Linked DNA regions of Homo sapiens: all the other regions are linked to region 1. The links are contacts of gene promoters, found by promoter capture Hi-C in blood cells and fetal thymus (Javierre and others, 2016). All regions are on one chromosome and are shown on one strand. Each heading gives the region's core, a stretch centred on a gene start or on the middle of the fragment in contact. The rest is flanking DNA. Distances are from core to core; before and after follow the strand shown.

Evidence for each region. The method cuts DNA at HindIII sites, captures the fragments that hold promoters and counts their contacts. A CHiCAGO score of 5 or more calls a contact.
Region 2: a contact is called between a fragment that was not itself captured here and the fragment with the promoter of MKLN1-AS in region 1, in 17 of 17 cell types (naive B cells, activated CD4 T cells, naive CD4 T cells and 14 more). The highest score is 17.0, in naive B cells.
Region 3: a fragment that was not itself captured here is called in contact with the fragment with the promoter of MKLN1-AS in region 1 in 1 of 17 cell types (neutrophils); the score reaches 8.2 in neutrophils.
Region 4: a fragment that was not itself captured here is called in contact with the fragment with the promoter of MKLN1-AS in region 1 in 17 of 17 cell types (naive B cells, total CD8 T cells, total B cells and 14 more); the score reaches 22.2 in naive B cells.
Region 5: a contact is called between a fragment that was not itself captured here and the fragment with the promoter of MKLN1-AS in region 1, in 7 of 17 cell types (neutrophils, naive B cells, total B cells and 4 more). The highest score is 13.6, in neutrophils.
Region 6: a contact is called between a fragment that was not itself captured here and the fragment with the promoter of MKLN1-AS in region 1, in 9 of 17 cell types (neutrophils, monocytes, total CD8 T cells and 6 more). The highest score is 10.5, in neutrophils.

What each region holds. Positions count from the first base shown.
Region 1 is chr7:131,326,415-131,330,770 of GRCh38, reverse strand. It overlaps MKLN1-AS (MKLN1 antisense RNA), which reads left to right and starts at 2,992. Exons shown (of 6, transcript NR_125364.1): 1 at 2,992-3,156; 2 at 3,836-3,965. It overlaps MKLN1 (muskelin 1), which reads right to left and starts at 2,895. Exons shown (of 18, transcript NM_013255.5): 1 at 2,774-2,895. The coding sequence starts at 2,871. RefSeq lists enhancers at 1,977-2,553, 2,560-2,859, 2,554-3,130 and a silencer at 2,910-3,069. The HindIII fragment of the contact is 3,998 bases long and covers 767-4,356 here.
Region 2 is chr7:131,075,356-131,079,456 of GRCh38, reverse strand. All of the region lies in intron 2 of LINC-PINT (long intergenic non-protein coding RNA, p53 induced transcript), which reads left to right. Among named protein-coding and RNA genes, the nearest start is that of LINC-PINT, 33 kb to the left of the region's middle. RefSeq lists a cis regulatory region at 507 and an enhancer at 435-579. The HindIII fragment of the contact is 3,718 bases long and covers 315-4,032 here.
Region 3 is chr7:131,158,130-131,162,148 of GRCh38, reverse strand. It overlaps a transcript of MKLN1 not described here. Among named protein-coding and RNA genes, the nearest start is that of LINC-PINT, 50 kb to the right of the region's middle. The HindIII fragment of the contact is 743 bases long and covers 1,020-1,762 here.
Region 4 is chr7:131,121,522-131,125,552 of GRCh38, reverse strand. It overlaps a transcript of MKLN1 not described here. Among named protein-coding and RNA genes, the nearest start is that of LINC-PINT, 14 kb to the right of the region's middle. RefSeq lists a silencer at 997-1,076 and an enhancer at 1,217-1,376. The HindIII fragment of the contact is 214 bases long and covers 1,272-1,485 here.
Region 5 is chr7:131,143,032-131,147,479 of GRCh38, reverse strand. It overlaps a transcript of MKLN1 not described here. Among named protein-coding and RNA genes, the nearest start is that of LINC-PINT, 35 kb to the right of the region's middle. The HindIII fragment of the contact is 6,889 bases long and covers 1-4,448 here.
Region 6 is chr7:131,180,761-131,185,359 of GRCh38, reverse strand. It overlaps a transcript of MKLN1 not described here. Among named protein-coding and RNA genes, the nearest start is that of LINC-PINT, 73 kb to the right of the region's middle. The HindIII fragment of the contact is 1,565 bases long and covers 1,471-3,035 here.

The DNA.
Region 1 (4,356 bases), core at 1,743-4,242:
GAATTCTAAGTCCTTAGAAAGAAAATAGAGATAAAATTGTTCAATTTTTTTTAATGACTTCACATTTCTTTACACAACTAAAATGTAAGTGCCTTTAATACAAGAGCTCTTTTAAAGTTCTGATTTCCTGTACTATATATACCTTTGTGCAGAAGCAGTAAAACACTATAGTTAAAGACCACAGACTGTGGAGCCTGACTACCTTGATTCAAATTCTGGTTCCATCTAGCTGTGTGACCTTAGGCAAGTTTAAACTTCTCCCTACCTGCTTCCAACATCTGGCAAACGGAGATTCCTCTTGGGATTGCGGTAAGGATTAAATGAGTTGATACACTTAAAAATGTTCATAAGAGAGCCTAGCAAATGGACGGCACATCATAAATGTTTACCATTTTTGTTACTGATTTATTACTGCCACCTCGAAATGCTTAGATCTATGCCAACAAATATTTGCCACTTTGTGGACAATTTCAACAAATGTCTTTAACCTAAAATGAGACCTGTTTAAGAAGTACCTTAATATGGTTTCCACTGCCAGTAAAGATACAACAATTGCTGCTAGAGGGGATTTTAGGGCAAAGGTAAGTAAAGTCAACCCCTTTCCTACATCTTCTGTCACACAGAGAAGTAATATCCTTGCTTGCTTATAGAAGTTCAGAGCCAAGAGTTTTATAATTTAGGCATGGCACACACCAACCCAGCAGACACAATATTCTCCAACTCCAGCTCCATAATACTCAACTATACTCCTTCAAAGAAAAAAGCTTAGATTACTCTTCTAATACTTTACTTTAAATACAAATTATACTGCATTTGTCAATAGAATGTCATAAGGATTAAACAAGATATAGTAAGTGGAAGTGTATGAAAGTTACGTATGTATTAAATACTATTTTATGTATGTACTTGAGAAAATTGCAGCAATGTATTTCTCCAATCTCAAATTGTTGCTTTCTAACTCCAAAACTAGTGTTCTGCCCACTGCAAACCAGGGGCCAGAGTAACAAGACACAAAAGATTAAAGTTGCCATCCCACTAAATCATTTCCTGCTTGAAATGTACTTTCTTAAAATGTCTATACAACAGATAACGCGGATGGTACTTGTGTTATCCAAGCCTCAGGCCTACATCAAAAATTTAAGGAGTGACGTCCTGGAAATACGCTAATTCAAGACCAGAAAAATGTCTCTACAGTTAGATCAAACAATGCCACACCAATTCCCAACTGTCCATAATCCTAGCCTGGGTATAGAAAAAAGCTGAATAACTTCAGATCCAAGAACAAGATAGCCCAGAATATCAGAGGTCAAGTACATAGGGCCACATTTCAACTCCAACTACATGGCTGGACTGTTTATCTGGCTCACTCTCAAATTCAAAGTTGGGTTTCAGCATCAATCAGGGATATGGCCATGAATAGGCTACGCAGGCCAGATCAAACCACAGGTCACTTGGCACCCTTCATTGGGCCAGATCCTACTGAATGCCAACCCTTGACCTGGTGAATAAAATGGGAGGCTGGCAGTCATGACAGATTCTTCCAGTTGCAGCTCCATTTTGAGATTCTTCATTGATATAACCAGTGAAATCAAATTTGGATAAATGTGAAGAATTTCTCAAATACAGATGGAAAACTTACTTGAGTATGCTTCACAGATCTAGTCACTTTTTTGTTTAGTAAAATACTCAGTAAAATATATTATTCATTAATTTGTTTCGTTCATAAAATCGTTTCGGTCCTGTGAGATGGTTAGAGGGACAACTAGCACTTTTCTTCAGGATCTGCACAGATCTTAACCCTTTACTAAGCCAGTTCCTCCACTAGCATGTAAAATTGGAGTTAGATCTGCTCCTCCTTTCAAAGATAAGCCAAAGATAAATAAGATACTATGTAAGAGTATTTTCAGCATTTCAGAAGGAATTTGCTAGAGAAAAAAACACCACCAACAAAAACCTAACAATGCAACTGAATTTTTTTAACACCTAAATCAGGGATCAAGACAAAGCCGGTGTTGAAAATCAAATTCATTAAAGCCAGATGTTTCTATGTTTGAGTTTCCGGACTGGGAAACGTGTCTGTGTCCATACAAACCCATCTTCTAATGAGCCGTAATACTGAAATTCTTCGGTAACGTCCCTCCTTCCCACTCCCTATCTTTTTCAGAACTTCCAGGCATTAAAGACAACGTCTGCCAATCCTACAAGTTCTCCCCGCCTGCTAGGATTCAGATGGATTCCACAACTTTTCAGCCTTCCGTGACTTTTAACACTACTCTAGAGCTAATCACTTTTAATGACCCCACTCTGGAATAGACACTCCTCGGCTTTACACTTTGTCCCGGCAGCAATCGACTGAACTGTCCCCCGACGCCGACCACCTCGGACGACCTCAGACATTCGGGGTAGTTTGCCCGCGGGCAGGGCCCCGCCAACTCCGATTCCTGCCCCAGAGCCGTCCGCCCCCCAAGCCCTCCTCAACCTCAACCCCCAAATCCCAAGCGCAGAACCGCTGGGCTTCCGGTTCTCCTGTGCGCGCCCCGGATCCGCCACACACCTCGCCCCTTCTCCCTGGGCTCGCTCTCCGGACCCTAACCCCTTCCCGAGCGAGGCCGAGCAACGCTCTCAGCAGCTGAACTAAGACTCCGGAGGCCGCACGTCCCCCTCAGCAGGCCCCGCCTGGGCCTCTCGGCTCGGCTGCCCTCCATTGCACCCCTGGCCCAACCGTGCTGACGCGGAAGGGTGGGGCAGCACGAGCTCAAGGCCCGGCACTTACTCGGGAAGGTAGGTGGAGGAAAAGGAGCTCCACTTGTGTAGCGCGTAGGGGAGAAGCCGGCACTCGGGCGCCGCAGCGACAGCTCCGCCAGCCGCCATCTTGTCAGCACCGTAGCGGCCGCCACCGACCGCTGGCAGCGAACGGGAGGAGGGGAGGGGGCGTGGCCTGCTCTTAAAGGGGCCGCCGCCCTCCCCGGCCGCCCGCGCTCCCCGCCCCGCATCGTTACCCGAGCCCAGCGCCGGGCCAATGTCCTATCTCAGGGTTTCCCACGTCGCTCGCTCCTTGACGGCTGACCGACACTGGGTCTGAGGTGTAAGCGCTTTCCAGGCCCTTCCCTGGGGCTTGGAGGGGAATGGCGCAAAGGACTTTTCTTACAAGCAGAGGTAAGGAAAAGCCGAGATGATTACGAACAGAAACACGTTGTAGTTATGGAGCAGGAAGGGAAAATAAGAAGACCAAGTTGGAAAAGGGACGCCTGTGCGCTTTTGGAAGCCACCGCCCTCGCCAGTTTATAAGTCCTTTACGGAAACAACACTGAAGGGAGCTGGAGGGCAGTAGCTAATGTGCTGTCCTCCTGGAGTGGTCCTGGTTTTAAATGTCTTGTCCCCGCCTTCCAGAGTCAGATGGAGACAGGAAAAGGAAATGGTCCCGTGTCCTCCTACCCTGTTTGGTTTGCAGTCTGTGATGCCCTTCATTGTAAACATTTCTTGTGAGCCGCATCCTACTAATCTTGTGGCATTGGTTTGCTCGGGAATGACGTTCACCCACAGACCTGAAAAGTCCTTACAGAGTTGGGAAGCTGCGTGTCATCATTTTTTCAGTTGGCAAATCTGCCCACTTTGAACTGACATAATTGTAGCCTAAAAGTTCAGAGAGAGAGTAGTTCAGGAAAAAGACTATTCCTTCTTCTTAGAGGGAACAGCAGCCCTGAAAACTATGTGGACATCATACCAGCTTCTTACAACAAAAGGTGCACTTGGTCTAAATTATCTGGCAGCTCTAGATAACGTTCTCATCAAGTACCTGTTTGTTGTAGTTATGCATATTTATTCCTTGGCTTAGCCACTGCAGTTACCAAAGAGTATGTCGCTTATTGTCTAAGAGGTTGGACTCCTGAAAGCCTGGACAGTGTCATCATCTTCACCTGAAGAGTGGAAAAATTCAAGCAAAGAGTTTCTCAGGAAATGACCAAGTGAGTCAAAACACCTCAATAATTGTATTCTCTTCCCGTTGTAATCATTAACCTGCCGAAATTCCCTCCAGTCCTTTCCTGACTTCCTGTTTCTATAGATGGAAATTTTAATAGTGGGCTCTACTAGGATATCAAATCAAAAAAGCCAGATAGAAAGGCCAGGCCCGGCACGGTGGCTCACACCTGTAATCCCAGCACGTTGGGAGGCTGAGGTGGGTGGATCACCTGAGGTCAGGAGTTCGAAACCAGCGTGGCCAACATGGTGAAACCCCGTCTCTACTAAAAATACAAAAGTTAGCTGCGTGTGGTGACATACACCTATAATCTCAGCTACTTGGGAGGCCGAGGCACAAGAATCACTTGAACCCAGGAGGCAGAGGTTGCAGTGAGC
Region 2 (4,101 bases), core at 924-3,423, 250 kb after region 1:
GCCTTTGCCCCATTGGCTGTAGGGAACCACTGGAAGTTTTAAAATCAGGGGAATGGCGGAGATTCACATTTTAGAAAAATGCCTGGCAGCAGTGTGGAAGATGGACTGGAAGGGGAAGACTAAAGAGAATGGACGAGTTAGGAGACTGCTGCAAAGTCCAGGTGAGCACGGGGAAGGGCCTGGATTAGGCCTTGACAGCGGCGATGTGGCAGAGAAGACTAAGTTGCATGTGATTTTGGGAGGCGGAATTTGCGTGACATACCAGAGCTGCAGATAACAGTTGTGGGAGGGATGGAAGAATAGAGAAGGAAGCTTTTTTTAACCTATAGCCATTGAATGGGAGAGTAGAAAGGAAACATTGAGTTTGGTTCTGGACATTTTAGAATGGGGCACCCAAATGGAGAGAACCAGCAGACGGAAACATATTCACATGTGTGTGAATGGGTGAGATTATATAAGGAGAGCTTGCTGAGCAAAACGAGAGAGGGTCATGCAGAGGACTCTGGGACACTCCAACATTTAAAGGGCACACTCGGGAAAAGAGCCATTTAAGAACAGTTTCAAAAGGAGAGATAGCCACAAGAGGTCAAGCTGAGATGAGCAGGAATACGAAGCCATTGGAACAGAGTGAGACCCTGTCTCAAACAAACAAAAACAACAACAAAACTTTTTCAAAAGAATTTGTTGTAAGATTTTTAAAAATACCAAGCACTTTTCAGTATGTGTGTGTGTAGCGGGGGTAAATATATACATAACATAAACTTTACCATTTAATCATTCTTGAGTGGTTTTTTTGGCATTAAGTACATTCACATTGTTGTGCAACCATTACCACCATACATCTCCAGAACCTTTTCACTTTCCATGATTGAAACTCTGGCTGGGCGTGGTGGCTCACGCCTGTAATCCCAGCACTTTGGGAGGCCAAGGCAGGCAGATCACGAGGTCAGGAGTTCAAGACCACCCTGACCAACATGGTGAAACCCTGTCTCTACTAAAAATATAAAAATTAGCAGGGCGTGGTGGTGCGCACCTGTAATCCCAGCTACTCAGGAGGCTGAGGCAGGAGAATCGCTTGAACCCAGGAGGTGGAGGTTGCAGTGAGCCAAGATCACGCCACCACATTCCAGTCTGGACGAGAGTGAGACTCCATCTCAAAAAAAAAAAAAAAAAATTCTGTACCCATTAAACAACTCCCCATTTCCCTCTCCTCCATCTGCTGACAACCACCATCCTACTTTCTGACTACTCTGGGAACCTCATACAAGAGGAATCATACAATATTTGTCCTTTCGTGACTGGCCTGTTTCAGCGCAACGTATTCAAAGTTCATCCATGTTGTAACCTGTCAGGATTTCCTTCAGCATCTTAAAAATATAATTTGAATATAGTTTTTTTTTTTTTTTCAAGAAACCAACTATTTACAACCATTACAAAGTCCTACGATCTGCCACATCAGTTTTACACAGGGAAGGGAATTAGAAGAAGGGAATTCACGTCAATCACAGACATCCTGTCGAGCATGTGTCAGGTGCCACATTGGTTCTAAGTGCTTCATCTAACTCATTGAATCTCCGTAACAATTCTGTGCAGTGACATTATTTTTCTCATTTTACAGCTGAATAAACTGATTTTCAGAGAGTTTATGTAGCTTGTGCAAGACCACACAGCTGGCAAATAACTGAGCCAGGATTCAAATCCTGATCTTCCCAATACCCAAGGCCATGCTCTTTTTAGGACCCTTCAGTTCTCCCTTTAGTCCTTTCTCTAATTATGTCACTCTGAAGGAGTCAAATCTCTTTGCTTTGAATTTAATGAAGTTGTGCTTTAAGGTTTTCCTGGTGTTCAGCAAATATACAAGGCTCCTCATGACATTAAACTGCTCTTATATTGTATTTAACCTTTTAAGAACAGAATCAAGCATTTGCCAAAAGTAGAGAATTAATTGTGTAACTAATTAATTCAGTTCACATAGTTATTTGTTTAATGTTGTTTGATGTGTCTGTCCAACTTAATATTTATCTGGGGTCGTTGACAGAACTACGTTGATTTGTAGGATAGGTTTCTGAAGGAAAATACTTTTTTTAAACTAAACAGTTTCTATTCTAATCACAAATAGGAAAGGAAGAAACTTTTTAAAATGAAAAATATATAACCACTCATTTTTGAGGATCTCACAAAAACAAAGTATTATGCAAGTAATCTGAAGCCAAAAGCCACAGGCTGAGATTTGCCATGCTGAAGGTTTTTTTTTTTTTTTTTTTAATCTACAAATGTTTCTTTGAATTCTTGAATGCTCTATCCTGTGCCAGTGAAAGATGTTTTTCTTTAAAGATCTTAGCAGTGACTGACATATCACTGTTTGAGCAGATGATCCTGAGAAAGTAACCAAAGCCATTTACAGAACAGGCGTTTCTGTAACTTGGGCCCTTTACGGAAGTAAGCCAGTGGGCTTGCGTGTTGTTTGAAGACTGGGCTTATCTTTGTTCAGTGTTTTGCTTTGAGAGCACGACTGACTTTGAGTTTCATCTGCACTCTGTGACCAATTGTGAGACAGACCCAAAGTCTGAAGTTTGTGTTGACTTTAGAAAGTCATTCTCTGAAGCCTTTTTTTGGAATGAGTTTAAAGAAGGAAGAGTACCAAAAGCCAGGTCCAGTCTTGTAGTGGATGTTTTGGAAAGAAAGGATCATGGTTCTCTGGGACCATCAGAGTGGATCAGATTACATTCTAATGTAATGATGAAAACAAAGAACAATAAATCAGAGGGACTCTAAAACATCCTAAAATCTTCCCTCAGGCAAATAATACCAAATCTTCGAGGGTGGATAATTGTTTTCTCTCCATTTTCTTTTTTCTTTTTCCTTGCAGATTGACAGAATTAAAAATTTGACAAGCCCCATCAGTGGTTCATTTAAGTGTTTTGGTATACAGGTGATTAGAAACTATAAAATCTCTTCTGCTTTATTTTAAAGCTATTGTCTTGCTCAGACTGCGTAATTTAAAGGCAACTGTGTTAATGTCTGTGGTGAAAAATTTCTGATCCTAAAAGTCATGGACAAAAAGGGGGCATTTGCCTACCTAGTGTCAAGGAGCTTAAACTGTAATCAGAAGTCCATGCATTATTGTTTTATTCAAATGTAAAGGGAAGATGAATGCTCAAGATACCGCAAAGGATCTTCTTAAAATATGCAATTTGTGTGACTCTTGCTGAGTCAGATGAGTGGGTGATGCTGGGCAGAGCTGTAGAAGAAAACTGACTTTCAGCAAGGAATAAGAATCCATGCTAAACAGTACAGAAGTGAGGCTGAGAATATGCTCAAGGAGAGTGCGGTGGTTGGAATGTTTGTCCCTTCCAAAACTCACGTTCACATTTAATCCCCAGTGTGGCAGTATTGAGAGGTAGAATCTTTAAGAGGTGATTGGGTCATGAGGGCTTTGCCCTCATGAATTGATTAATCCACTCATGGATTAATGGATTAACGGGTTAGTGGATTAATGGGTTGTCATGGGAGTGGGGCTTGTGGCTCTGTAAGAAGAGAAAGAGAGAGCAACACTCAGCCCCCTCGCCATGTGATGCCCTGCACTGCCTCGGAGTTTGCAGAGACTCACGACCAGCAAGAAGGCTCTCACCAGATACCGTCTCTCAACCTTGGACTTCCCAGTATCCAGAACTGTAAGAAATAAATTTCATTTCTTTATAAGTTATCCAGTTTCAGGTATTCTATAAGCAACAGAAAATGGACTAAAACAGAGAGGGAAGCCTCTGGAAGGGGGAAGCCTGAGTGGTTAAGTGGTGAGTCCAGCAGCTGAGGAGAAAACTTTTGACCTGAAAGGACTAGATCTGGGACCCAGATGGAAAACGACTTCCTCTTTTTACCTTGGGGTTTGAGAGAGTGCTCAGCCTGGGTCTAGGAGTGGAGGTAGACCAGCCTAACAGAAAGGACTGAGTCCAAGGAATTGCTAGCCAGAGGGAAAATAAAATAAAATCATGGAAGGCTTGGGAGATGCCTTTTGATACTTTAAACCAAGCTTGTCCAACCTGTGGCCTGCAGGCCACATGTGGCCCTGGACAGCTTTGAATGCGGCCCAACACAAATTAG
Region 3 (4,019 bases), core at 142-2,641, 170 kb after region 1:
CCCAGGAGGATCGCTTGAACTCAGGAGGCGGAGGTTGCAGTGAGCCTAGATCGTGCCACTGCACTCCGGCCTAGGTAACAGAGTGATATACATATATATATGTGTGTGTGTGTATATATATATATATATTTGTATATCACTCTGTTACATATATATATATATATATATATATATATATATATATACACACACACACACGTATATATATGTGTATATATGTATATATAACATACTATTAAAATAGTGAAAAAAACAATGTGTTCAGAGTTACTAATCAGCACAGCAGCATCCCTTAGAATACCTGTGTCACGGCCAGGCATTGTGGCTCACGCCTGTAATCCCAGCACTTTGGGAGGCCGAGGCGGGCGGATCACGAGGTCAGGAGATCGAGACCACGGTGAAACCCCGTCCCTACTAAAAATACAAAAAATTAGCTGGGCGTGGTGGCGGGCGCCTGTAGTCCCAGCTACTCGGGAGGCTGAGGCAGGAGAATGGCCTGAACCCGGAAGGCGGAGCTTGCAGTGAGCCGAGATCGCACCACTGCACTCCAGCCTGGGCGACAGAGCGAGACTCCGTCTCAAAAAAAATAAAAAATAAAAAAAGAATACCTGTATCACTTGCTAAACAGCAGCAATAGCAGAGAACAGCAGGCTTTGTCACCACCAACAATGCCACTTGTAGCATCATAGTCCTCAAAAAGTTTTGGATTTTGGAGCATTTTATATTTTGAATTTTTAGATTAGGGATACTCAACCTGTATAGCATACCTTAATTCAGACTAACCATATTTCAAGCGCTTGATAGCCACATGTGACCCGTGGCTACCATACCGGAGAGTGCAAGTCTAGGAAAAAGGCTGTGACTCATTTAGCATTATGCTAGGCATAGAGAATTCTACAAAATCATCATGGATGTTATTGTTAGAGGACTGTGTAATCTTCTCAAAGCATTCACTTCTCTAGACTGACCCTGTCTGTCCTGCTCTTAGAAGTACCTGGAGAGGTTCCACTGCTCAAGCTTGAGCTCTTTAGTTACTTTAAGGGGTACTTCCTTATGGTCACTCCCCATCTATTGTATGGAGAAGGCGACCAAAAGTGGCCTCCGTGGGGGTTCTGCATAGAAAATACACACATGGAGTGTCAATGACCTTCAGGGTACTGACTTATGAAACCCCAAGAAGGAGACACCATCATATTGATAGGACAGGATAGGACATTTGCTAAAGCAACCACTTGCTCCTATACTTCTCCCCTTCTGAGTAGAGAGGCTTAGCTAAGTAATACATGTGATCAAAAGTTGATTTGTTAAATTAAACATAGGGCCAGGTGCGGTGGCTCATGCCTGTAATACCAGGACTTTGGGAGGCTGAGACAGGTGGATTGCTTGAGCTTAGGAGTTTGAGACCAGACTGGTCAACCTGGTGAAACCCTGTCTCTACAAAAAATGCCAAAAAAAAAAAAAAAAAAGCACAGTGTGGTGGCACATGCCTATAGTCCCAGCTACTCAGGAGGCTGAGGTGGGAGAATAGGCTAAGCCTGGGAGGCAGAGGTTGCAGTAAGCCAAGATCGCACCACTGCACTCTAGCCTGAGTGACAGAGTGAGACCCTGTCTCAAAATAATAATAATAATAATAATAATAATAATAATAATAATAATTAATAATAATAATAAAATAAGTTAAACATAGAGTTCCCTTACAACTGAATAATTCTCCTAGGTATGTACCCAAGAAAATTATAAAATGTACATTTCCACAAAAGCTTGTACACAAAGGTACACAGCAGCATTATTTACAATAGCCAAGAAATGGAAACCACCCAAATGCCCAAGAGCTGATGAATGGATAAACAGCATGTGGTATATTCATACAATGGAATCTTTTTCAGCCACAACAAGGAATGAAGGACTGATACAATATGGATGAACCTTGAAAACATTATGCTCAGTGAAAGAAGCCAGTCACAAAAGGCCACATATTACATGATTCCATTTATATGAATATTTACATTAGGCAAATCCATAGAGCCAGAAAGCAGATAAGTGGTTGCCAGGGTCTGTGGTTAGGAGAGAATTGAGAGTGACTCTACCAGGCATGGGAGTTTTTTTTTTCTAGGATGACGGAAGTGTTCTGGAGCTAGGCTCGGGCTCTGGAGCCAGGCAGCCTGTGTGAAAGCCCAGGTCTCATTACTCATTCGCTTTGTGACTTTGAGCCATGTTCCTACCTCTTCTGTGCCTCAGTTTCCCTTTACAATGACGATGATAAGAGTGCCTGGGCTTGTTATGAGGATTCAGATAGTTAACATATGTAAAGTGCTCAGGAGAATTTCTGGCCAGTGGTATATACTATTTTTTTTCCCATTATAATGTTTATGACTTTAAGAAAATTGATATATAATAGTCGTACATATTGTTGGGGTACATGTGATATTTTGAAACCTGATAGCTATTTTGAAATATATAATAAATTATAGTCAACTTTAATTTCCCTACTGTACTGCTGAATACTATAATTTATTTCTACTATCTAATTCTATGTTTGTACCCATTAGCCAACATCCCTTCCTCCCCCACTCCCCCTTCCCTTCCCAGCCTCTGGTAACCACCATCCTACTCTCCACCTCCATGAGATCCACATTTTTAGCTCTCAGATATGAGTGAGAACATTTGATATTTGTCTCACTGTGCCTGGCTTATTTCACTTAACAAAATGACCTCCAGTTCCATCCATGTTGCTGCAAATGACATGATTTCATTTTTTAAATGGCTGAATAATAGTCCATTGTATGTGTGTGTCTGTGTGTGTGTGTGTGTATCCACATTTTCTTTATCCATTCATCTGTTGATGGACACTTAGCTTGTGTGATAGATATTTCATAAGTGAACCTGATCAGCCTGTCCCCCACCCTTGCTTATTTCTGTCCATAGCATTAGTCACTTTCTTTTTCTTTTTTTCTTTTTGAGACAGGGTCTCTCTGTTGTCCAGGCTGAAGTGCAGTGGCACGATCTCGGCTTACTGCAACCTCCACCTCCGGGCTCAGGCGATCCTCTCACTTCAGCCTCCCTAGTAGCTAGGACTACAGGTGTGCCACCACACCCAGCTAATTTTTTTTTAAATTTTTTTGTAGAGACAAGGTTTCACCATGTTGCCCAGGCTGCATTCATCACTTTCTAACCTACCCTATAATAACTTGCTCATATATGTTGCTTGTAGCCCATCAACCCCTACTAGAAGGCAGGGATCTAATCTATTTGTATGCTGCTAGATTCCAAGCACCCCAAACAGTGGCTAGCACAGACAATGCACCCCATCACACTTTCTGAGTGAATGAACAAATGGTTGGCAATTCTGGCCAATGGCACTGGGCAGCCTGGATGGAAATGAGATGCACCTTTCACTGAACAGTTTTTGCACCATTTTCTATTCTACCATGTGCTCAGTCCTTTTCATAAAGGTGAAAAGTGAAAAATGAAATACAGAAAATAAGAATACTTGACCTGAGGGAGAAGCTGGTGGCATTAAACAGTAAGACTTTAGGCATCAGTGGAAAGTGTGTGATCTAGAGAAAAAAGTGAGGATGTGACTGCGGGTCACCTTTAGACTTTTAACCCCTGAGTAAAGAGTGGAATGACACCTCAGGAATGGCACTCAGTCCTACTCTTGAAGCACAGTATGTACACAGGTTAATAAGAAGTTTGTTTGTTTGTTTGTTTGTTTGAGATGGAGTTTCACTCTGTAGCCCAGGCTGGAGTGCAATGGCGTGACCTCAGCTCACTGCAACATCTGCCTCCCAGGTTCAAGTGATTCTCCTGCCTCAGCCTCCAGAATAGCTGGGACTTTGCCACCATGCCCAGCTGATTTTTTTATATTTTTAGTAGAGACAGGGTTTTGCCTTCTTGGCCAGGCTAGTTTTGAACTCCTGACGTCAGGTGATCCGCCTGCCTCAGCCTCCCCAAGTGCTGGGATTACAGGCTTGAGCGCCTGGCCTAACAAGAAGTCTCAATAAGATCTTTCGTATTGT
Region 4 (4,031 bases), core at 129-2,628, 200 kb after region 1:
AACCACTGATTTTGTAAAAATGTACACTTCCAATCATATGACTCCTCTTGCCCTTTATTTCCTAGTTCCTGGCCAGAGGGAGTCTTGTGTCCATATTTTCTCTTAACTTGCTCCTCTCGTTCATGTCAGGTTAGCAGGTGCAGAATTGCCTTCTTTGGCTATTACAAATTCAAAGCTGCCCTGGTCACTTATTTTAAGTTGTTTGTCACTTCTACTTTGCCAACATATTTTTCTTAGCTGGTTAGAATTAAGCACAGAATAGTACTTCTTCAGTAAGCAATTAGTTTAAATTTAAGTCATGCCAACTTTATTTGACGATCACTTTTCAGCAGAATGAGACTGTCAGTAGATATCAGATAAGCTGAAGTTCTCCATTACCCCTATATCGTGTCCCTGTGCCAATAATTTTGTCATTTGTATTGGGAAAGCATTACTGATGTTGCCATAACAGGATCACAAGGCATGCTAGGAGTAGTTGACTGCATACAGCCAGTGGAGAGAGGGTATGAGCCAAGACCAGGGTTGGGGGATGCTCCCTAGAGCACGGGCTATGAATACAGAAACCAGCTTGGATCTGGGCAGCTGGCCTCTGCAAAACCTTGTGTCTCTTAATCACATAAAGTTCAGGAAGCTGTTAATACCAGGCAGTTTAGCCTTACCCTAGCAATGGGTTATCTATAAAGGGGAAGGCGCATATGTCCCATGGTTTGAGGAGAGCACAGCAGGGGTGTAGGCAGCAGAATACAGCCCTCTGCAAAGATGACTGGTCAGAACTAAGCTAAAGAAGACATCAGGATCATGGTAAAGTAGGCTGGGGTTCAAGACAAGGGACCCACATCCAAAGGGAGACTGGGATACAAGGCAGGAGGACCAGAGACTGAGGTGTTGAGGGCAAGGTGGAAACCCATATTGGGCAGAGGGGTGGGGAGGCACAATAGGAGGGAGCTACAGATGTCTGAGGCCCCATGGCTGACCTAACTGAAAGGAAGCACAATGGTGGGGCCGATACTAATGGTGACTTTCTCCAGTCTGAGCCAGCGTTTAAGTACTGGGGAGGCTGGGGGTTGGACCCATAAGTAGGGCTCCTTAGACAACCCAGCAGCTGGTTGCTAGAGAAGACAAAAGCAAGACAACTGGCCAGGTGCCTTATTGTATGCTCCTGTGACAATGTCACTTCTGCTTTTATTTTCAGCCAAATGTTCTCGGCCAGGTGTTCAGCCCCCAGGTTTGCGGGTTTCTATATGTGTCTGTGACCTCTTGACTTACAAGCTTACTCTGCTTTGCCTTTGGTTGTGTGCTTCTTTTGAATAAGTTACCTACCTTCATATTGCTGTAATACTACAACAACAGCTACCATTTACTCATTGTCTACCATTTCCCAGGTACTACACCTGCTGATTTACATACATGATCTTATTTAATTCTCACAACCTCCTTGAGAGGTAGGTGTTATTATCCTCATTTCAAAAAGAGGAAACTGAAGCTTATATGGTGTATGTAATCACCCCAAGGTCATGCAGCTGGGATGCAAAAGAGCTCAGATTTAAACTTAGTTTTGTCTGACTGCCTATTGTTGCTTTAAAAGACTGCATTTATACATTGATACTGTGATACACCTGAACAATTCTCACAGAACTTATCAGTCACTAGATCTTTTGTCTGTCAGTCTACCTACCTACCTACTTATGAATTATCTATCCTTTTATCTTCAACTCCATAATACCCAGTACTGTACTATGTAAGAAGTAGATTTTTTTTTTTTTTTGAGACAGAGTCTTGCTCTGTTGCCCAGGCTGGAGTGCAGTGGCACAATCTCGGCTCACTGCAACCTCTGCCTTCTGGGTTCAAGCAATTCTCCTGCCTCAGCCTCCCAAGTAGCTGGGATTACAGGTGCCTGCCACCATGCCTGGCTAATTTTTGTATTTTTACTAGAGACAGGGTTTCACCATGTTGGCCAGGTTGGTCTTGAACTTCTGACCTTGTGATCCACCTGCCTCGTCACAGGCCACCACACCCAGCTATTTTTATTTGTACTTTGTAGAGACAAGGTCTTGCTATTTCCCAGGCCATCACATTTTTAAATGATTGGAAAATGTGAAAAGAAGAATGATATTTTATGACACATAAAAATTATTTGAAATTCAAATTCATTTTATTGGAATATGGCCAGGTTCATTCATTTAAATTTTGTCTGTGGCTGCTTTGCACTACAATGGCAGAATTGAGTAGCTGAGACAGACTGTAGGGCCAGGAAGGCCTAGATTATTTCCTTTCTGGCCCTTTATAGAAATGGAAAAAGTTTGCTGATCTTTGGTATAACTAAATGATACAGGATGGCATAACATTTTAAATATTGTTTCAACTACATCTATTACTGTATTTCCTAAAATTTCCAGTTCAAGGACACTCTCTTTTATTATGTAGAAGAGCTCCACGTTCTTAGAACAGAGTCAAACATGTCCTTCTTTGATATTCTGTACAGCGGCCCTGATAGCAGCAACACTTTTTTTTTTTTTTTTTTTTTTTTTTTGAGACGGAGTCTCGCTGTTTCGCCCAGGCCGGACTGCAGTGGCGCTATCTCGGCTCACTGCAAGCTCCGCCTCCCGGGTTCACGCCGTTCTCCTGCCTCAGCCTCCCGAGTAGCTGGGACTACAGGCGCGGGCCACCACACCCGGCTAATTTTTTTTGTATTTTTAGTAGAGATGGGGTTTCACCGTGTTAGCCAGGATGGTCTCCATCTCCCGACCTCGTGATCCGCCCGCCTCGGCCTCTCAAAGTACTGGGATTACAGGCATGAGCCACCGCACCCGGCCCGCAGCAACACTTTAATGCAGAAACAATAACAGACTAAGAAGCTGGTGGTTTCTCTAAGAGGTTAGACGTCTCTTCCTGCCAGTAGTCACCTTTCTCTCTCATGGGAAACTGGGGCTGGGCAGCGTTATGAGTGATTACAGTGTATTACAGAACTGTAGTGGCACAGAAATGGATGCCCCCGTTTCCATCAACTCATTCAGGGTGATGTGGTGGAGTCATAGACGAGGAAAAGCAAATTGCCCTTTTCGTCATCACCTAGGACCTAAATAAAGATAAAAATGACTCAGATTGACCAGACACAGGTGAATATCACTTCTCAAAATGTTTTCTGAAGGTACTTACATGGCAACAATATGGTTCTGTGGGAGCCCCATCAATGTGTTAGCTCAAGAGTAAAACACAGGGAGCAGAAAGAACCTCCTTACATTTCCTAAGATCAAGCTGGGTTTGCAGTCAACTTCAAGGGAATCTGTTTTACTTATTTATTTTTTGAGACCCAAGCATAAATTCTACTGTCTTTCTGCATGTCTGCCTTTCTTGCCATGCATCTTTCTCTCTTTCTTCAATCTAACAAAAGTTTACTGATCATTTATTATGTGTGGGTCACAGGGCAAGCCCCAGGGAAACAAAAATAAATAATAAAATAATACTAACTCTCAAGGAGCTTAACGCTTACGAGAGAAACAAATTAAAATAATCTTTCTTGACCTTTTGGCAGTGTTTAACAAAGAGCTGATCCTCCTTAACAGATTCTTCTCTTGGTTTCCTTGGCCCCGTAGTCTCCTGGTTTCTGATTCTCAGTCTCCAGTGCCAGCTCTTTCTCTTCTTTTCAGTCTTAAATGATCAAGGATTAGACCTGGACCCACTTTTCTTTGAGTCTTTCTATCTACCCTCCTAGGCAATCTTCTTTCAAATTTATAAACCCAGTTCCAGCAGCTCTTATGAACCTCACACCCATATCTACAACTCTGCAGGGGACATCTGCACTTAGAACTTTTGATCTTCCCCTGTGTGATAGTCCATTCTTGCATTTCTTGCATTGCTATAAAGACATATCTGAGGCTGGGTAATTTTTTTTTTTTTTTTTTTTTTTTTTTTTTGAGACGGAGTCTTGCTCTGTCACTCAGGCTGGAGTGCAGTGGCGCGATCTCGGCTCACTGCAAGCTCCGCCCCCAGGGGTTCATGCTATTCCCCTGCCTCAGCCTCCCGAGTAGCTG
Region 5 (4,448 bases), core at 1,685-4,184, 180 kb after region 1:
GCTCTGTAAGACTCTATTTCATCTTCTGTACAAGAAGGGGTCACAATCTCACATGGTCTTTATGAAGACTGAATAAACTCAAGTAACATACATGTGGAAGCTATTTTTAAGACATCATCAACGGCTGGGGGCAGTGGCTCACACCTATAATCCCAGCCCTTTGGGAGGTCGAGGCGGGTGGATCACCTGAGGTCAGGAGTTCAAGACTAGCATGACATGGTGAAACCCTGTCTCTACTAAAAATACAAAAAAAAAAAAAAAATAGCTGGGTGTGGTGGCAGGCGCCTGTAATCCCAGCTACTTGGGAGGCTGAGGGAGAAGAATCGCTTGAACCCAGGAGATGAAGGTTGCTGAGACTGTGCCATTGCACTCCAGCCTGGGCAACAGAGGGAGACCCTATCTCAAAAAAAATTAATAATAATAAAAGTAAATAAATAAATAAAACATAATCAAATATCAGATGACTCCTTTAACCTAGCAGAATCATTTCCTTTCTGTTCTTTGCTTCCATCATACTTAAAAAACATACACGCAACTGCTATAGCATTTGTCACAAGGTACTGTAAGGATTTGCCCACCTGTCTTCTCCCCCACTGACAGCACATCCTCCAATTCACCTCTGCATCCTTCACACATTGGACATACCTGGTACAGGACCAGTATTCAATAAATATTTGTTTAAATGAATATTGTTCAAACAATTGCACAGGAATTCTCAAGGCCTTTGCCGGGAGTGACGGATTATCACTTTTGCTGAGGGTCCTCAGTAGACCACCCAGAAATGTGCTTTTCTTCAGGCACAATATATTGAGGTTCTGTCATTTCAGATCCCGCCAATGTTGTATTTGTTGCATTTGTTCATTCTTTTCACTTAATAAATAATTAGCAAGCACCTACTGTGTGCCAAGTCCTATGCTGGGCTCCATACAGTATACCCAAGTGGCAAATGGCCAGACTAATACAGTTCCTGCATATTACATATAGAGGGAATCTATGTACTATAGAATCATCCACCCTTTGAGATAAACTCCTCGGTTTGATTATTTCATTAGAGTGATAGGATCTCAAGGTGGGAAAGAACGGCTTTCTAGAAGTGAAAGTCCTTATACTTTACTTTTATTTTTATTTACTTATTTTAGAGACAATGTCTCGCTCTGATGCCCAAGCTGGAGTGCAGTGGCATGATCATAGCTCACTGCAGTCTTGAACTCCTGGATTCTAGTGATTCTCCTGCCTCAGCCTCCCCAGTATCTGGGACTATAAGCGTGTACCACCATGCCCACCTTAGGGTCCTCATAGAATAATAATTAAGGTTTGGGATCTGACTGCCTGGGTTCAAATCCTAGATCTGCTTTGTACCAAGGTGTAAGACCTTGGGCAAATTGCTTAATCCCTCTAAGCCTCACTTTCTCATCTGTAAAATGAGCTAGTGGGATTGATGTATTAGAAATGACAACCTCATTAATCACGTATTATGGTGTTTGCCATACAGTACACACTCACTATGTGTTTGCTATTATAAACAAATCTATTCTCCTCACTTCCTCACTCTAGTGTTTGAACTTCTGTCACAAATGTACCCAGTGAATGGGGCATGACTGCCCCACTTCCGGGCACCAGGGTCAGGGAATTTACTACCTCCAGTGGTTGTCCATTTGTCTGCTAGGCAAATCTAACAGTTGACCAATGTTAATGGGTTGAAATGTACGTGCTTACATCTCCACTCATTGGCCCTCAATCTGCCATTTGGGATTACCCAGAAGAGATCAAATCTCTCCTCTGCCGGATAGACCTCAAACTTTGAAAGGTAGCTACATATGCTAGTTATCACCATCCCCCTTACACACCTACATAAAACCTTGGATCTTTTTGTTATTTCTGAATAACTCTGTGCACCAGATTTCTTATTATCATTTTTATTTTTCCCATATAATCCTTTGTTGATCAATGTCTCTGAATGTCTGAAGCCCAGAATTCATAAAACACAATAAATGTGGTCTGATCATCAGTGAGTACTAGAGAACTAGTTCCCCTCTCGAACGTTACATTTCTATTAATACAACAAAAGATTGATTTTTTTTTAAAGCTACATCCCACTGTGTTGACTCATCTTCTTACAATCAACAGGAGACTGTAAATCTTCGTGCCGTGTGTAGCTGTAAGCCACCTCGCCCCCACTCAGTACCTGTACAATTCGAGGATCTTTGAGTACTTTATATTGGTACACATTAAACTCTATATTGTTTGATATGATTCATTATTACATTTTGTCAGGATTGGGGGTGGGGAGAGAATCTGATTGTATCCTCCAACCTATTTGTAATTCTTTCTAGTGTGTGTCATCTGTAAATTTGTTCGGCAGGCCATCAATGTTATTGTCTTAGTCATCGATATAAGTGTTCGGGGAAAAAGCAGATTTTCATTAGATCCCTGGAGATCCGAATATGCATCAGCCTCTTTGTTGTTGTTGTTGTTGTTGTTGTGGTTGTTGTTGCTGGTTGGGGGATGGAGTTTCAATCCTGTTGCCCAGGCTGGAGTGCAATGGTGCAATCTTGGCTCACTGCAACTTCTGCCTACCGGGTTCAAGCGATTCTCCTGCTTCAGCCTCCTGAGTAGCTGGGATTACAGGCGTGTGCCACCACGCCTGGCTAATTTTGTATTTTTAGTAGACACGGGGTTTCTCCACGTTGGTCAGGCTGGTCTTGAACTCCTGATCTCAGGTGATCCGCCCACCTCGCCCTCTCAAAGTGCTGAGATTACAGGTGTGAGCCACTGTACCCGGCCTGCATCAGCCTCTTTAAAAAGAAAAAAACAAACAAAACACAAGGGCCAGGTGTGGTGGCTCAAAAATGTACTTGTAACCCCAGCGCTTTGGGAGGTTGAGGCAGGAGGATTGCTTGAGGCCAGGAGTTCAAGACCAGCCTGGGTAACATAGCAAAACCTCATCTCTATTTTTAAAAGTATAAAAATTAAAAAGAAAAACTTTTTTTTTTTTTTTGAGACACAGTCCTGCTCTGTCACCCAGGCTGGAGTGCAGTGGCATGATCTTGGCTCACTGCAAGTTCCGCCTCCCAGGTTCATGCCATTCTCCTTCCTTGGCCTCCCGAGTAGCTGGGACTACAGGCGCCCACCACCACGCCCGGCTAATTTTTTGTATTTTTTTTTAGTAGAGACGGGGTTTCACAGGATGGTCTCGATCTCCTGACCTCATGATCCGCCCGCCTCAGCCTCCCAAAGTGCTGGGATTATAGGTGTGAGCCACTGAGCCCGGCCAAAAGAAAAACTTTTAAAATACATCATTCATTCAATCAAAAAATATTTACTGAGTGCCTTCTGTGTACCAGTTACTGTTCCAAGTGCTGAGCATCTAGTGCTGAACAAAAAAATTGCCTGCCCTCATAATGCTTACATTCTAGGAAAGGAGGTAGACAACAAACAAAGAAGTGTTATGAAAAACAAAATCAGTTATGGGGCTAGAGAAATTTGACAGTGGGGATGCAGTGGGGTTGACGATAGGCAGTATGGCTAAAACAGAGTTGTTTTTGGAGTATGGTTGAACTACACATGTCCTGCATTATTAAACTGGCCCAGAGTGGGCAGCAAGTCTTTCTGATTCTCAAAATCCACTTTTATTTTTATTTTTATTTTTTTTGAGATAAGGTCTTGCTCTGTTGCCTAGGCTAGAGTGCAGTGTTGTGATCATGGCTCACTGCAGCCTTGAACTCCTGGTCTCAAGTGATCCTCCTGCCTCAGCCTCCCAAGTAGCTGGGTCTATAGGCACATGCCACCTGTAGTCCTAGATAATTTTTAAATTTTTGTAGAGATGGGGTCTTGCTATGTTGCCCAGGCTGATCTTGGATTTCCAGCCTCAAGCAATCCTTCTGCCTTGGCCTTCCAAAACACTAGGATTACACGCATGAGCTACTGTGCCCAGCCAAAAATCCACTTTTCTCTATGTGAAGTCACTTTAGAAAATATCAATAGAGCAATGATGAAGAATTTTTTCTTTTTTTTGAGATGGAGTCTCGCACTGTCGCCTGGGCTGGCATGCAGTGGCACGATCTTGGCTCGCTGCAACTTCTGCCTCCTGGGTTCAAGCGATTCTCCTGCCTCAACCTCCCAAGTAGCGGAATTACAGGCACCTGCCACCATGCCCAGCAATTTTTTGTATTTTTAGTAGAGATGGGGTTTCACCATGTTAACCAGGCTGGTCTCGAACTCCTGACCTCGTGATTTGCCGGCCTCGGCCTCCCAAAGTGCTGGGATTACAGACATGAGCCACTGCGCCCAGCCAAAGAATTTAAATACTCATGAAACAGAGGAGAAAATGTGAAAGGATGGAATTCCTCAGAAGACTTCACAACATTTCTTTGTACACATAGCATATTCAAACATTGTGAAAACAACTAGACTAGTGAGGACTCCAGTCACATCTTCTGATGAAGACT
Region 6 (4,599 bases), core at 1,004-3,503, 140 kb after region 1:
GTGATCTGCCCACCTTGGCCTCCTAAAGTGCTGGGATTACAGGTGTGAGCCACCGTGCCGGGCCCCTAGGGAAAGTAGTTTAAAAGATGCATCTTTGAGAACATAGGTTGTCCAGTGGTACCAGTCACGTGCTTAAGGTTAGGAGTCAGAGAATTGTGTTCGCAGCTGCTCTCAAGTGCTTGATGTAAGTGAGTGATATTGGTAGTGGCATTGACAGTTCCTGCAAGGTGCAGTCTTACATTTACAGAGCATTACGGTGCATTCTGAACTCTGATCTGATTTCTCCCACCACCCTCTCCTCCTCTCGGGTGGTATGCATCAATGCTCAGGGGCAACTCCAGCAGGGTTTCTGCCAGCATGTGTCTGCCGTGTTGACTCTTTCCTGATGGCAGGCAAGTTATACAGTAGATCCATCCGTGTTGGCCTATTCCCATGGACACTTCAGCAAATTAGCATTTTGGAGAAGACTACACAGAAACATCCATAATACTGGTGAACCTGGCTGGGTGTGTGCATCTTTAAAAAAGTATTGCTGGCCGGGCATGGTGGCTCATGCCTGTGATCCCAGCACTTTGGAGGCCAAGGCGGGCAGATCACCTGAGGTCAGGAGTTCGAGACTAGCCTGGCCAATGTGGTGAAACCCTGTCTCTACTAAAATTACAAAAAGATTAGCTGGATGTAGTGGCGGGCACCTGTAATCCCAGCTACTTGGGAGGCTGAGTCAGGTGAATTGCTTGAACCCGGGAGGCGGAGGTTGCAGTAAACCGAGACCACGCCATTGCACTCCAGCCTGGGCAACAAGAACGAAACTCCATCTCAAAAAAAAAAAGTATTACTGCCAGTCATTTATGGAAGGCTTTGGAAGTCCCCATGGGGCCTTGCAAGCAACATGCCACTCAGCAGGGAAGATAAAGACAGGGAGAGACAGTGACTGGCCTGCAGCTGTTTCTAAGGACAGGCTTGCTCTGCTGAAAAAAACAAAGAACAGATATTTGGAATAGAATTTTGCATCTGAAACAAATATGGATTTGGAGAATTTTAGGTTTGAGCATTAAGACATTAGAAAATAAAGCCAGGCACAGTGGTGCACACCTATAGTCACAGCTACTAGGGAGGCGGAGTTGGGAGGATTGCTTGAGCCCAGGAGTTTGACACTGTAGTCATGCCTGTGATCATGCCTGTGAATAGTCACATAGTGAGACCCTGTCTCTAAAAAAACTAAAAAAAGAAAGAAAAGTGATCACAGAGTCCCTGCAGACCCTTGAAGTCTATGGTCTCTCTGAGTAGAGAACAAATGTGTCCATTCTCCCACCTCAAGGCAGCTTAAAAAAAAAAAGTAACTCTTCTTCTTTACTCCGTTTGCAAACTAGATAACTAGGAGGAGGTGAACAGGCAATTTCCTCGGTGGCCTCCACTGATCGTTTAGAGGATGCAACAAGGTACCAGGGCCAGGACTGGTTCCCACAAGCTTCCTGTTCTCAGTCTGAGGCACAACAGAGGCTAAAAAGAATTCAAAGATTCAAGAATTGGCTCTTAGAAGCAACCATGTGTCACCAAAGAGCTGGGCAAGATAGTGCTTGTTGGCTTTTCTCCTAGTCAAGAATTAACCATGAGACTTCTCTAGGAAAACATTGATTGCCTGGCTGGAAAACTTCAGAAACATTGAGTTGACCACTATTCTCAGGCACCTGCACATACATTTTTCAGGCCATTGGGTACAATTTATAGCATCTTATTTTCCAGTGAAAATAATCTGTTACTATATTTGTAGCCTGTTTCATACGGTTTAACACTTAATAATTCTCTGTTGTTTTTATTACGAAAACTTGCATTCTCTCATCTAGAGCAGAATCTCCCTGAGGGCAAGATTTACGCCTTCCAATTTCTTTGGACTCCTCCACAGGACCAGACAGAGAATGAAGGAGTACAATAGTGGGTGATCAAGAGGGAATGATTACAGGACAGAGTATTTGGAGACCTGGGCAGTTCCAATGCTCCCCACCCCCGTCAAGCTGAGTATAGGTCCTCAGAAAGCACTTAAGTCTCAGAGTTGCCATTTCCTCATTTTCAGATTACCTCTCTTACCTTACCGGTTGTTGGGAGGATCAAATAAGATAATGTCTGTGAAAGTATTTTGTGAACCAAGATCTGCTAGCCACTGAAATGTAAGAAGTCATCAGAAGAGGCACTTAGTAAATATCTGATTGATTTTTAATGATAAGATATTGTCTTCCCCTTTCTCCTTTACATTCAGCTCCTTTGAGGGTGTTATTTTGCAGGATTTCACTTTATATGAGTAGCAAAACCACTCCACATCCACCTGATGCTGTGTGGTAGGTCCCCTAGTGCATTTCATCTCATAATTATCTTAAAATTTGATTGACATTTAAGCAAACCAACCAAAAAAGTCACAAGGTATGCCATGGTCACGTTGATCACATAGAATTTGTCAAGATCAATGCATGTGTAACCCACTGGCATTTCAGAGCCTTTCTTGTGCTGCTGCGTCAGCCCACTAAAATTATACCCTAGGCAAAGATTATGTATATTTCTGTACTCTAGTGCATAGTTCATACATGAGAGTGGCAGATCATTGCTCTAAGCCCAGGCCAGAGAAAAAGAACATTAAAATGTGGCAGTATAATGGGGAATTTCACAAAAAGGTGACACTATAAAACAGACTCTTAAAACAACTCATTTATTTGTAAGTCTTTATTCTCTATTTGTTCTTAGCAAAGAAGACAATCTCTCTATAGTAACAGAATTCTATATGACTCATTAGAGAAATCTTTCAAACATGGTTATTCCTTAAAATGCTTCTGGAAGATATAAGGTTTGGTCTTAGGGTTTCTTCTCACTCAACTGGAGGAAAAATAGAGATGCTAAAGGATAAGCTAAATTGTATATTCCAGGGATTTGTTTATGTAAACTCCTGATTCCTCATCTAGTTCTTTGGGCCCAAATAACGTGAAAGTAAAAATAATTAGAGAGTGACAGCTTGGCTGTGGTAAGCATTGTCTTCTCTTACTGAAGCTTTTCAATTCCAGTATTTTCAAACCCTATTCCTGAAAGCTATGGGAACCTGTTTTTCCCAAATTCAATCATACAGTGTCAACTGCAGGACTGGTATCCAGGTTTGAAGCATTTTGTCAACATATTGAATCCAGACCAGTTTTGAACTCTATTAACTCTATTGATGAACATATTTATGATGGGTTTTTTTTTGGAGATGGAGTTTCACTCTGTCACCCAGGCTGGAGTGCAGTGGTGCGATCTCGGCTCACTGCAGCCTCCCCGTCCCGGGTTCCAGCAATTCTCCTTCTTCAGCTTCCCGGGTAACTGGAATTACAGGCACGCACCACCACACCCAGTTAATTTTTGTATTTTTAATAGGGATGGGGGCCGGGTGTGGTGGCTCACGCCTGTAATCTTAGCACTTTGGGAGGCCAAGGCAGGTGGATCACTTGAGGTCAGTAGTCCGAGACCAGCCTGACCAATATGGTGAAATCTCGTCTCTACTAAAAATACAAAAATTAGCTGGGCGTGGTGGCTTGCGCCTATAGTCCCAGCTACTCAGGAGGCTGAGACAGGATAATTGCTTGAACCCAGGAGGTGGAGGGTGCAGTGAGCTGAGATCGTGCCACTGGACTCCAGCCTGGGTGACAGAACGAGACTCCATCTCAAAAAAAAAAAAAAAAATAGGGATGAGGTTTCACCATGTTGGCCAGGCTGGTCTCAAACTCCTGCCTCAGCCTCTCGAGTTATTGGGACTAAATGTGTGCGCCACCAAGTCCAGTTAATTTTTTTTCTTTTTGGTAGGGATGAAGTCTCCCTGTGTTGCCCAAGCTGGTCTCGAACACCTGGCTTCACTTGATCCTCCTGCCTTGGCCTCCCAAAATGCTGAGATTATAGGTGTGAGTCACTGCGCCTGGCCTGAAGCCTAATTTTTAATAGATGTTAGTAGCTAGTAACATTAAACTCATACTAAATACCAATACATTTTAATGTTTAAACCTGATAACATGTTTATGCATATATAGTTTTCTATAATAATTTTATTTTCATCAGATGCTTTTCTTTCTTATTCTCAAATTTCTCCCACTTCTTCTAGGGCTGATGTGAGGCTAAGCCTCTTTCATAATCAATACTGGAGGGAAAATACCTAAGAGGAGGAGGAAGTAGTGGATTTAACATTAATTATTATCATTATCTTCCTGTGACACCATGCTCTGCTCCCTTTGCCTGAAAAGTTGCAGGAAAATAATGGTGATGGGAAGGGGAAAACGTCCAACTGCAGAATTAATTATTTGTCAATTTACCCCCAAAATATATGGTGAGTGGCAGACATGTAAGGGTGTTGCTGTACTCTTGATATTGAGAGAGAGCACGAGGGACAGATATTATAACACAAATGTTTCAAGATGGAGAGTTTCTTGTACATAGAAAGTCATTTATGTATTGTATATTTTAATAAATATTTTTGTAGAGTACAAATAATTTTCTGTATGGAATTATTCTAAGATTTATGAAAATGTTTACCAGTTTGTAACCAAACCATTCCCAAAAGGGATCTAAAATAATAATTTTAAGAAAGAAATA